Linked DNA regions of Homo sapiens: regions 2 and 3 are each linked to region 1. Evidence: promoter capture Hi-C in 16 types of primary human blood cells and fetal thymus (Javierre and others, 2016). All regions are on one chromosome and are shown on one strand. Each heading gives the region's core, a stretch centred on a gene start or on the middle of the fragment in contact. The rest is flanking DNA. Distances are from core to core; before and after follow the strand shown. Region 1 holds the start of TSC22D3 (TSC22 domain family member 3). Region 2 overlaps TBC1D8B (TBC1 domain family member 8B). Region 3 overlaps MORC4 (MORC family CW-type zinc finger 4).

Region 1 (4,042 bases), core at 397-2,896:
TTCCACCAGGAGGTACCTCTGGTGCCTCTCCGAGCTTCTGTGACGCAGGCAGAGAACGTTCAACGTCTTGGACACTAGATGGCAGTATATGCTGCTCTATTTCAAAGGCCAGACTTGTGAATGAAGGAGCCGATGCGGGGGTGGGGAGTACTGACTGAAATGTAAGTCAGTTTTACGTGAAAACTGAACGTCATGAAAAGTTTAGTTTTTTCAGACACTAATCGTTATTTAATCCTACACATTTAAAGTATTCCAAGTCTCTGAGTCCTGAGAAACCCTGGAAACCCACCACTTGCCCACCCAGAACATCCCTCCATCTTACAGAGCTGGGGCACGCCCCTCAGGCCTGTGAACATGCAATCGCTACATCTATTGAAAGGGTAACGACAGACGGAGATCAACTAAGGTGGCAGGTAAGGTTCAGAAAAGGAGAAGGACAACAAATTTGGAGAAATAGGAGAAGGTAAGTGAAGTGAGGAAAAAGAGGGGGTGCTGAAGTAAGAAATGAGGGGAAAATAAGGGAAATGGCGGGGGTAGGGGAGAGAAAAATGAGAGAAAAGAGGAAAGGGGAGAAAGGGGAAATGAGGAAATAGAGAAAAGGAGAAAAGAAATAAGGAAAGAAAGGTAAAAGAATGGAAATGGGGGAGAAAGTAGAGGAAATGGGTAAAGAAAAGAGAAAAAATAAGGGAAATAGTGGAATGAGTGGAAGCAGAAGAGCAGAGAGAAGGAAGGGGAGGACTGAGGAGAGACGGCGAAGGGGCAGAGGGAAACCGGGACAGAGACTGCCTCTGAGGGGTTCAGGGAAGAGAGGACACAGCGAGCTGGGGAAAGGAGGTGACGATATCGTTAAGTAAGCAGAAAGAGACAGAAACTGAGGAGAGTTTGAGCGTGCTTCTCTGAGTTTTGCTTACGGCATTTATTGGGTACTCCTAATGTGTGCCTGGCACTCTCTGACTCTCTGCAGAGGCAACCGCTCTCCTTGCACGCCCCCCCCCCAGAAAAAGGGGGGCTTTGGAGGGCGGCAGTTTAAGGCTACAACACTTGGGGCTCTCGAGGGCGTCGTCTCTTCTGTAGGGGGACCCATTCGAGGTGAGACTAGAGACATTTGCCCTCACGCCGAGCTCGAGCCCCGCGAGACCGGGCCACTGAGGGGGCACGGCAGCCCGGGTGGGCTGCGTGCGTATTTCTGGCGGAGGATGCGCCATGAGCGCTGAAAGAGCCTGAACCGAAGCGTCCGGCTCGCCGAGAGAGTGAGAGCCGGGCCGGCTCCCAGGAGCGCGGGCGAGGGTGCGAGCGGCAGCGTGGATGCCAGGGCACAAGGGTGCGGGCGGGGTGGGGCGAGGGGTGGAGGGACAGGATCCAGCCGCTCGGGGCCCCCGCCCGCCAGCCGGAGAAGTGGCGGAGGACCGTTCTCCGCCGTCCCCTCTAGGGTAATTTACATGCTGTCATATCCCAGTGCTGACTCCCGGGCGTGCAGACCGCTAACTAGCTCACTCGCTCTCAGCTCCTGCCACCGCTCAGCCGTCACAGCCCAGGGGAGCCCGAGAGCCTGAGAGCCTGCAAACCGGGGAGGGAGGGAGCAAAGGAGGGAGGGAGCAAGGGCGCGCCCTGGCTCTCCCTCTGCCCTGCTGCCCGCCCTTCCTGCCTCCACAGGTCCGCCCCAATCCCCGCTCACACTTGGGAAACTTGGGACTGCGCTGGGGCCGCGTGTGGCACCTCAGGGGGGCGGCCCCCGGCCTCAAGAGGAGGGGGAGGAGAAGGAGGAAGAGGAGGAAGTGAGCCCGAAGGATCCGCTCGGAGCTGTTTGTCCAGCTGTTTCTATTCGCACCCGGAGCAGTACAGCCAGAAGGGGGCCGAGCCGAAGGTGGCTGGCTTTAGGCGCTAATTTCCAACTCTTTTCCTCACAGCTTGTCTTTTCCAGGCACCCTGGAGTCCCCTCAGGCCAGCTCGGTGGGCGCGCACCTGCCAGCCGCCCCTGACCTCGCAGGCCAGGCGACCTCCGAGCCTGAGAAGATGGCCCAGTCCAAGCTCGATTGCCGCTCACCTGTCGGCCTCGACTGCTGCAACTGCTGCCTGGACCTGGCCCATCGGAGTGGGCTCCAGCGAGGCAGCAGCGGGGAGAACAACAACCCGGGCAGCCCTACAGTGAGCAACTTTCGGCAGCTGCAGGAAAAGCTGGTCTTTGAGAACCTCAATACCGACAAGCTCAACAGCATAATGCGGCAGGATTCGCTAGAGCCGGTGCTGCGGGACCCCTGCTACCTGATCAACGAGGGCATCTGCAACCGCAACATCGACCAGACCATGCTCTCCATCCTGCTCTTCTTCCACAGGTGGGTGGCTCGGCACACGGCGGCAACTCGGTCCTTGCTCCCACCAGCCTCTGCTGCACCCTCATCTCTGGCAAAAGGGGCAACTAGGAAGTTCAGGAGGGGTACTGGGGAGGTCTGACTCAGGCTACAGTGACTGGACCTTGAGGTTGCCTGGAGTACCGCGGAGCTGAGGGGAGGACTGGCAGGTGCAAGCCCTATTCTGAAAGCTGCCTGCAAAGGCTTTCTGATGGGGACGCTGGGGCCTAGAAGGTGGGCAGACCCCAGATGGTTTGGAGGTAGCTGAAAGTACCCGCTCCTCAAATGCATACATTTCCATAGCCCCTTTGGAGATTCTGCCATGGGGTCTTCTTGAGTTCCAAGTTCTACCCTTCTCAAAAGCCCATCTCAAATGTGCAAAATCAGATTGAAACTACAAGGGCTTTAAAATTACTGAGTGCCCCTGACTGACAGTGAGGGCAAGCAAAATGTCAAGACAAATTAAACTGCTGGTGGTAGGAGAGGGAGATGGGGAGGGGAAAATTTTTAAAAATCAGAGACTTGTGAGAATTTCTTGAGCCTCTGGATGGGAGGGATTCGCCTCCTCCATGGATCACAGCGTTAAATTTCAAATGTAAGCTAAGCGCAACCCCAGAGAGCACCCTAGGACATCTTGAGTGCCTCAAGAACTATGTGTGGCAGGAGGGCGGATGAATCCATGTCGTTGCAGGCGTGTATTGGTGTACCGGTCAAGCTTTCTAGAAATCCTGCTGGGGAGGCAAGGAGAGGACAAGGGAGGGAAAAAACACAATGGGAAGACCCAAGGCAGCTGCTGTCCTTCAGTTTGAGACACTCTGGCAAGAACCAGTCTCTGGGAACAACTGAGGCAATTTAGAGGCAGGGCAGACAACATCAGGAAACCCAGCCATGGATTTAGTGTCCTTAGCGCCATCAGGATAGGGCACCAACATGTGTGTGTGAGTGTATAAGCGAGGATTTATTCTTGCTCAACAACACAGGTTATGTAAGAGAAAGACATCGCCACTGTGGGAGACCTGGGTTGTAGTACAAGTTATGGCTTCACCTGTTTGTATGAGCCTGAGCAAGTCGCCTGACCTCTCTAGTCTCTCCAAGGTTCCTTTTAGCTCTGAGATTCTAGGCTGTAGGCAGGCGATGTGCCCAGACAAAGTGATAAGAAATTCTGAGCACCTACAAAATATTTAGAATGCAAGCAGGCTCAAATAGGAAATTTTAAAAGCAATCGAGAAAGGCAGGCGCTATTCTCACTTAATGCTAAGAGCAGGTTTGCCTCCCTTGCCCCAAGACAAATCCACCATCGCCTCCCGCTCAGCCCAGCCCCAGTGATTCTGGGCAAGACAAGCAGGGCCGCTAACCTCGTTAGTGTTATTATAACAAGTCGTATTCCTCGGGCATTTTCGACACCATTGAAGCCCTTTCTCATCTATTATTTCACTTTAGGCATCAAATTATCTCATTGTCTAAAATAAACCAGGCTGAATTTTTAAAAATAATAAAATAAAATAAACCAGGCTGCGGGCAGAAAGGTTTCGAGGGAATCTTCATTTCTAGTGAAAGATTACTACAAGTGTATTCAGCCCACAGACGTTGAAATCCTGCCAAGCGAAAGCCCTAACAGGCTCCTAAGGATCCCGCCTGTCTCTGTTGGAGAGTGGCAGTGGGGGAGGGGTAGTAGAAAAACCTGGAAAGAGCGC
Region 2 (4,042 bases), core at 1,126-3,625, 900 kb after region 1:
TGTTCTTCAAAGCTCAGTTTAGTCCATCCTCCTGATAATTATGTAAGCCACTTGATATCTAGTAATAAATCTTTTCCTGATTAAACTAACTAGAGTGAATTAGCTCTCTGCAATTGAATTCTGATACAAGAGGGAAGTCCTCAAGTGATATCTGAGTGAAGTGCAAGTAAAAATACATCATAGTTCTGTGTGAACTGAAATTTAGAAAAAGAAAAAAAAAAAGCCTGAACATGGTGACTCACACCTGTAATCCACATTTTGGGAGGCTGGGGCGGTAGGATTGCTTGAGCCTAGGAATTTGAGAACAGCCTGGGCTACATAGGGAGACCACATCTCTACCAATAAATAAATAAATGAATGAATGAATAAATAAATAAATAAATAAATAAATAAGCCAGGCATGGTGGTGTGTATCTGTGGTCTCAGCTACTTGGGAGGCTGAGACATGAGGATTGCATGAGCCTGGAAGATCAAGGCTGTACTGCACTCCAATCTGGGTGACAGAATTAGACCTGTCTGTCTGGGTGACAGATTGAGACCTGTCTCAATAAAGAAAAAAAAAAAAAAGAAAAAGAAAGAAAAGAAAAGAAAAAGGAAAAAAAGACATCATAATAAATAATACTAATCTTTTTAAGTAAACCATTTTTCATGTTTAGTAGATATATTTATTTTTATAAAGACAAGTAAAGCCACCTTATAACATATTTAATTTAATGCATAAGGTATAATGAACTGGTTCAGTTTAACACAACTACGTAAGATTTTTAATATTATGAACAACCTGTTTGGTTAACAAGATAGCAGCTATAAAACTATAATGTTTAGTTTGTTTCTCCTGCAGACTCAGAAAATAAATGTTTTCTTTTTGCTTTGCATTTATAAACTTTTTGCAACTCAAAAAATCTCTTTCAGTATTCAATTTTAATTAATCTAGCCTAAAGTATAATACTCAGCAATCTGTACTATTCTGACTTTAAAATCATATCAAATATTAATAACATATATGCTCTTAAGAAAGTACCTTTCTTTGTAAATACAACTGACAAAATATTCAGCAAAGTGTGTACAATAGTGCCTTGTATACATGTGTCTTTCTAGAGCTACTTCAGTATAATTTAACAATCATTGCACAATAGCAGATGTATAATAGTTTCCATATAAACTATTATCTAAGCTGTAAAATATGGACATAGTTCAGCAAATCATTTCTGAGAAAAGGCATAGATGTTTATTTACCAACTATCTCTTTAAGTGGTAATTTCCTTGAAAAGACAAGGTTGATTAAATAATTTAAAGACACTACTAGTAAGTGTTTAGCTAAAACCAATTTATGGGATTTTCAAAGGCTCAACTTGAAAATTCTTGAACTTCTTTGAAAATAACATATTCTATGAGCGATGAAGCCCCATGTGTTAAGCTTTGTTCACAGTGGATTCTTCCCAAAGGCTGACTGTACCAACTCCCTCCAAGAAAGGGAGACCTCTTGAGTCACTCTGAAGGAGGTCTGCCCTTTCATGGTTTCACATCTAGAAAAGTCAAAAGGCTTATAACCAAAGTCTTTTCTAAAGAAAGAAGCTCCAATGAATGATTTCTCCCCCTATTTTCTAAGTCAATTGATTAATAAATTGTCCTTGGTAGGAATAGCACAGGACAGTGGACAAGTATGGTTTGCTTTTTTTTTTTTTGAAAGTGCTAACAAAGCCCATTATCTCTAAATGGACTTGGTGTAATGACTGAAATATAAACAGCATAAAGTATATAGAAATTACACATCTAAATTGGATAGTCAAAACTTTTTAGACAGATGTCAGCAATTCTGTTACCTTGGCAATCATTACATACAAGTATACTTTATATGCTTGCCAGACTAATAAGATAATTCAGTCTTAGTGTAGCCATTCTTTACTATCTAATGTAAATTAACACATGACTGGTGAAAATCCAAAATCTAAAGCTAGAACCAAAACAGTCATAAGCTACTCTGAGACAAATACCACAAACAGCAGTGCCCAGAATTTCTAGTGATGTCTCGGTCTAATGAAAGACCTATACAGTTAATTGAACTGTTTCTTAGCCCTTCTCAGAAGGCTGATTTTACCCAGATTAAATCCAAATCCAATATTGTTTTTTTCTTTATATCAGCCCAGAATTTAGAGTTATTGATTTGCTTTTGTCAGTAACAGAGTTAGCAGTGTGAGTCAGCAGCCTCTGAACCCCTCAGGTAGGAAGACTGTAGAAGGTACTTAAAAAAGCATTTATTACTAGAAGACTGAATGAGATTAACTTAAAAAAATTAATAATATTTCAGTTAGATAACTTGAAAACAAGGGCCCCAAATGGTAATCTTTTAGATAATTTGGAAAGTAGGGTTTATCGATTGACATGACATATCAGCCTCACTAACACCCAAGCATAACACCGTCTTTTCAAAATAATCAGTAATTCATATGTAAATAGCAACACAAGCTAGTAATTTCCTTACTAAAAGTGATATGCTTGTGCCCTCTGGTGGTAACATTTAGCATATTCCCCTGATATTGCATATATTGTGAAATATAAAAAAGTATATTTGTATTTGAGAATATCATCAAAATTTGAGATAACAAATGTGGTTTGCTTTTTTGTTTTGTTTGTTTGTTTGTTTTAAAAAGTGCTAACAAAGCCCATTATCAACAACAAAGGAATGATGCATTGTGCTTCTGGATATATATTTTGGCCTTCAGACACATTGGTAACAAGATAAATCCCTGAGCCCTACTCACAGGAATCAAACTGACAGCTACAGGAATGTTAGTAAACTTGTCTATGATAGGCAATTCCTAGGGATTTACATCTTGGTTCTAGACCTTAACTGAGAAATTCTTGCATTTTCCAGCTTGGCTTTTACATCTATGGGTTTCTCAAAAAACCTCACCAATGCTGGTTCATTCAACAGCGATGCAAGAATCTGTTCAAATGCAAATGACCACTGAGGTTCCTCCCTAAAGGAACAAGGATCTTTCTCCAAGTGGCTCCCTGTTTTTTCCTCACTGGGTCCTCCAGAACCACAGACAGTACCAGAGAATCCTTTGGCTGATGATGTAGGGCTATGTAGTTTCCTTCCAACTTCTTCCATCCTGAGTAAAAGGCTGGTTACAACAGCAATGGCTTGATATAATGATTCTTCTTCAGGGTCCTCATGAAATAAGTTATAGAGGGTCTTTGAAAACTGAATAAACTGAGACTAGAAGACACAAGTTGAAAATATCACGTTTGAATATTAGACTTAGCAAATATAAAGAGAACTTAGAAGTGAATAGTCTCCTATATAGGATTTGTACCATAGAAGCTTCACCCTAGAAGTTATAAGAACTGGTGATTAACCCCAAAATACATATTGGTTCTAGAAAGGTGAGTATGGGCCAGGCGCGGTGGCACATGCCTGTAATCCCAGCACTTTGGGAGGCCGAGGCGGGTGGATCATCTGGGGTCAGGAGTTCGAGACCAGCCTGGCCAACGTGGTGAAACCTCTACTAAAAATACAAAAAATTAGCTGGGCGTGGTGGCAGGCACCTGTAATCCCAGCTACTTGGGAGGCTGAGGCAGGAGAATCGCCTGAACCATGGAGGCAGAGGTTGCAGTGAGCCGAGATCGTGCCATTGCACTCCAGCCTGGGCAACAAGAGAGAAACTCCATCTTAAAAAAAAAGATGAGTATGAACCATGGAAGAAAATTTCATTTAAGTGCTCTCACTTATTGCCTAATAGTACATTTTATCCAGACTAATTCCTGGACTGTTTGCCTGCCAGCATTACTTAAATGTTAGGTGCTATTTTTTTTTCCTTAGACAAGGCCTTGCTGTGTTGTCCAGGCTTGAGTACCATGGTGCAATCATAGCTCACTGCAGCTTCCAACTGCTGGGCTCAAGTGATCCTCACACCTCAGCTTCCCAAGTAGCTAGGACTATAGGCACATGCCACCATGCCTGGCTAATTTTCACATTTTTTGTAGAGACAGGATCTTACTATGTTGCCTGGGCTGATCTCAAACTCCTAGCCTCAAG
Region 3 (4,042 bases), core at 734-3,233, 790 kb after region 1:
TGGTCAGAGTCTTTACTTATTTATTATTTTTCTTAACTTTTATTTTTGGTTTGGAGGTACACGTGAAGGTTTGTTACATAGGTAAACACGTGTCATGGCAGAGTCCCAATTTAAATTTACCTCTCTGGATTCTGGATTCTTGACATTTTAAGATACTCCAGAGCAAGCTGCTGTATTTTTGGATTCCACTAAAAGTGCTGGTATCCAAGCCACCTTGATGTGTAAACAGTGTTGTCTCTCACACGAGAGGATAGAGCAGGACTGACTTAGCAAATAGAAACCACCTAAACCAAGTTATCTCTGTGGAAAATTATTACTGAGCTATAGCAAACTATCAAATTCATTATTACAATTCTATTATTATGTGTGGTGAGGGCTTTTGTGTTAGGTAGTTATTTGATTGGTACCTGACATTGATTCTGCCAGTTTGCATTTAAATAGAATGCCGAACATGAGAACTTAGGTGGAATAAAAGAGCACACGGGAAGAGTTAAGTGAAACACAGTAACAACAACAAAAATCCAGAGTTTATAGCTCCTCTCTTCTCGTTATTCTTATCCTTTTCCATTCTGGTTCTGGCCTGGCACTACTACTTATCTTCTCAACCTTGTATCATAATTTGGTCTCCTCAAATTAACACAGTGAGGGTTTATACTTTCAAAGGGGAAAAGAGGTGATAGATGGTGGAAGAGGCTAAAAAATTAAGGGAGTTGTAATCTCCCTATTTTCACCACTTTCCCTTGATCACCTAATTGAAGCTTTTGTGGTATAAGAGAAAGTTGAAGTCCGGTTAACGATACAAATTCATTTGAAGTGATGTGTAAGATTACTATTTATGAAGAGCCCTGAGCTTTAGATGTGACCTTAGGTCTGAAGTAGGAGTAGGGGATAGCACATGACAACTATCAGAATGACTTCTAGAGTTAGTTTAAAATTAATGTTTGAATACTACTTTATACTTAATGTATTTTGCATACAGTATATAATTTAATCCTCATAACAAACCCATTTTTTTTAAAAGCCAATTCTTCCACAAGAAAAATGGGAATGCCTGAATCTTACTATTATAAGTCTGTATCCTGGAATACTAAGGCCCATAGGCAACACAAACTGAAGTTCTTTTTCTTTTTTTTTTTCCCAAAGGACTGCTGCCATGGAAATTACCTTTTTCTGTCACTAGATTTATTTGTAGGATACACACAGCTCCTATAAAGTATCTACTCTAGGAGGACATATGGTATTATTGTATAATGCTTTGAAACAGAAAATTAAAAGGTGGTTCCCTTTCTTAGTGAGTAAACACAAAACCGCAATCTTCAGGAAGTAGAAATCAGATACCTCCGCTCTCCATGCTCAAAAGAGTAAAATTGTTAAAGATCAGCCTGCTCAGTCATGGTCTGACCAGAGTATCTATTTTATTGATGTTGAGAAGCACCTAATCTGTAATATATGAAGTCCTTCCTTAGACTATAAACTCTGAAGGCAAGAATCATGTCTCTTATTAAAAATGGTCTCTAGTGCTTAGCCCAATGCTTGGCACATTGTAGGTGCTTAGTTTAAATATTTATTGAATGAATGATAGTGCACAACATTGTAAAATTAGTCAATCTGGAGAGAAACAATCCTTTTTAGTATGATTTTTTCTTTTATTGATACCTAATATTTTACATATTTATGGGGTACATGTGAGTACTTTATACATGCATACAATGTGTAATGATCAAGTGAGGGTGTTTGGGGTTTCCATCACCTTGATAATTTATATGTTGGTAACATTGGAACTCCTCTTTTCTAGCTACTTTGAAATATGTGATGTATTATTGCTAATTATAGTCACCCTGGTCTGCTATGGAACATTAGAACTTTTTTCTTCTATCTAACTATAAGTTTGTACTCATTTGCCAAACTCTATTCATTTCTCCTTCTCATCCTGAGAAACAATCCTTACAATTAGTTTTATTGATGGTGAGGGAAGATATATAATCATTTTATTTTTAATTTTTAAAGTTCTGTTATTTTGGTGTGTACCTGAATGGAAAATACAAGGAAGGGAAAGGTTCTGGCTTCCAGATTAAGCTGATCAAAAGGGGCTACAGAGATTGTTGAGGCGCCTAAGTGAAAGGTCCTTAATGGAGCAAGAGAGACTTTATACTGCAACTGTTTGCTGATATTCAGAGGCAGAACTACCTATTTTTATCCTTTGGCCACATTCCAATGAACTGTCCCAGCAGATGGAACAGAGACTAAGAATTGGAAGGGTTATCCTTTGAGTGGAGAGTTGAAATTGTCAAGATACATGATCCCTGACTTTCAGATTTCTAGAGGATGATATAAACAGGTTAGGAGATGCCTAATCTAGTACCTCTGACCAATGACAATATCTGGAACTTTTGCTACCCTCTCTAGATAACTACATTTTTCACCTTACCCTAACTTTACTTCTACAGCAATCAGAGCTGTTTTATCTAGACAAGAAAGGCAGCTGCCCAAGGCCTTCTCCAGCTACGTTAGCTGGTGAAAAGGGGCCCTTTTTTACATTTATAAAGTGTGACTCTAACGTAATGGAACTATTTATGTATACACAAACCACACAGGAAAATTAGTCCCATTACCCCATAGTAATTTCCTATGTTTTTAACTTAATAGTTTTGCCCATAAATACCAAAAGGAATAAAAAAGGAAGGACTTTTTACAAGTGTTATTTATTTGTAGGCCAAATATTCTGCCTGTCACCTATCTTAGGATGCTTTTTACCTTTCTGATTTCTTTTTTTCTGATTTGTTTTTTCTTGTGTAATTGCAGCTTTGGCTTTACAGATAAAGTAATAAAGAAGAGCCAGTGTCCCATTGGGGTCTTTGGTAATGGTTTCAAGTCAGGCTCCATGCGGCTAGGAAAGGACGCCCTTGTCTTCACCAAGAATGGGGGTACTCTCACTGTTGGACTTCTATCACAGACCTATCTGGAATGTGTCCAGGCCCAGGCAGTTATTGTACCAATTGTTCCATTCAACCAGCAAAACAATATCCTTTCTGGAAATGGAGAATGTTGGTTAAAAATTAGTCTAATCTGAGTGTTTGATTAGATTCCAACTTCAGGTCAAATCCAACTGTCAGAAGTTTTAAAAGAGGTATTCAAATGTCTTAAATTTAACTGGGATTTTTCTCTATTAAACATTTAAAAAACAAGTAGAACATTGACATAAGCTTAGAAATGTTTTTGCTATATTGAAATTTTCATTGTTAGGCAGTTTGATCTATATAGTGTATCTCTGCTCTACCACCACCCCATGGTAAAGCTCCGAAGGCCTTCCTTTTTTTTTTTTTCCCCTAAGGATAGCTACATTTGCATTAATAGGCCTAGAAACATACTATTTATCAGCTTATATAATAGCAGAATAGCTCATTTCCCTATATCTGCACAGCTGTTACTTCTGTTAGACACCTGGTTCTCTTGACTGGAACAGTATAGCAATAAGGTTTTAACTTATTGCTTCCAAAGAAGTTAAAAAATTAAGCCTTTGATCTTTTAAATATAAGACTTTGTTTACATGATATCTTTGAAGCTATATTCTGCATGGGCAACTGATTTTGGAGCTTGTCTCTACAACCTTTCTCCATTTTTCACCTTTCCTCCTTCTATAGCAGTAATATGCATGCTGTATGTCTATAGTTTTGTCTAAATATGCAATCCAAAGGGCAGATCTTCCTTCTCAATAGCATCCTAAGATATTATTTTTTCTTTGACTATATTTGATTTTACAAAAAATGATTATTACCGAGGATTCATTGCCCAGCCTAGAAGCCATCTTGAACTATTCCATTTTCAACCGTGAAAATGACCTGCTGGCCCAGTTTGATGCCATCCCAGGCAAAAAAGGCACTCGTGTTCTCATTTGGAACATCCGCAGGTATAGTATTCCAAGGGTGATAGATTCTAATAAACAAAGGTAGTATGATGAAACACATTTTTATTTAATTTTAACTTTTAAAATTTTTATAAAAAGACAGGGTCTCATTATGTTGCCCAGGCTGGTCTCGAACAC

Evidence for each region. The method cuts DNA at HindIII sites, captures the fragments that hold promoters and counts their contacts. A CHiCAGO score of 5 or more calls a contact.
Region 2: a fragment that was not itself captured here is called in contact with the fragment with the promoter of TSC22D3 in region 1 in 1 of 17 cell types (monocytes); the score reaches 6.8 in monocytes.
Region 3: a contact is called between a fragment that was not itself captured here and the fragment with the promoter of TSC22D3 in region 1, in 1 of 17 cell types (total B cells). The highest score is 5.5, in total B cells.

The regions. Positions count from the first base shown.
Region 1 is chrX:107,773,391-107,777,432 of GRCh38, reverse strand. It overlaps TSC22D3 (TSC22 domain family member 3), which reads left to right and starts at 1,646. Exons shown (of 3, transcript NM_198057.3): 1 at 1,646-2,333. The coding sequence starts at 2,014. RefSeq lists silencers at 1,307-1,366, 1,340-1,634 and enhancers at 1,397-1,446, 1,723-2,299, 2,300-2,877. The HindIII fragment of the contact is 8,217 bases long and covers 1-3,065 here.
Region 2 is chrX:106,872,751-106,876,792 of GRCh38, reverse strand. TBC1D8B (TBC1 domain family member 8B) reads right to left here. Exons shown (of 21, transcript NM_017752.3): 21 at 643-3,223. The coding sequence ends at 2,828. Among named protein-coding and RNA genes, the nearest start is that of RIPPLY1, 29 kb to the left of the region's middle. The HindIII fragment of the contact is 1,911 bases long and covers 1,420-3,330 here.
Region 3 is chrX:106,984,961-106,989,002 of GRCh38, reverse strand. It overlaps MORC4 (MORC family CW-type zinc finger 4), which reads left to right. Exons shown (of 17, transcript NM_024657.5): 4 at 2,803-3,020; 5 at 3,760-3,907. Among named protein-coding and RNA genes, the nearest start is that of MORC4, 13 kb to the left of the region's middle. The HindIII fragment of the contact is 2,445 bases long and covers 761-3,205 here.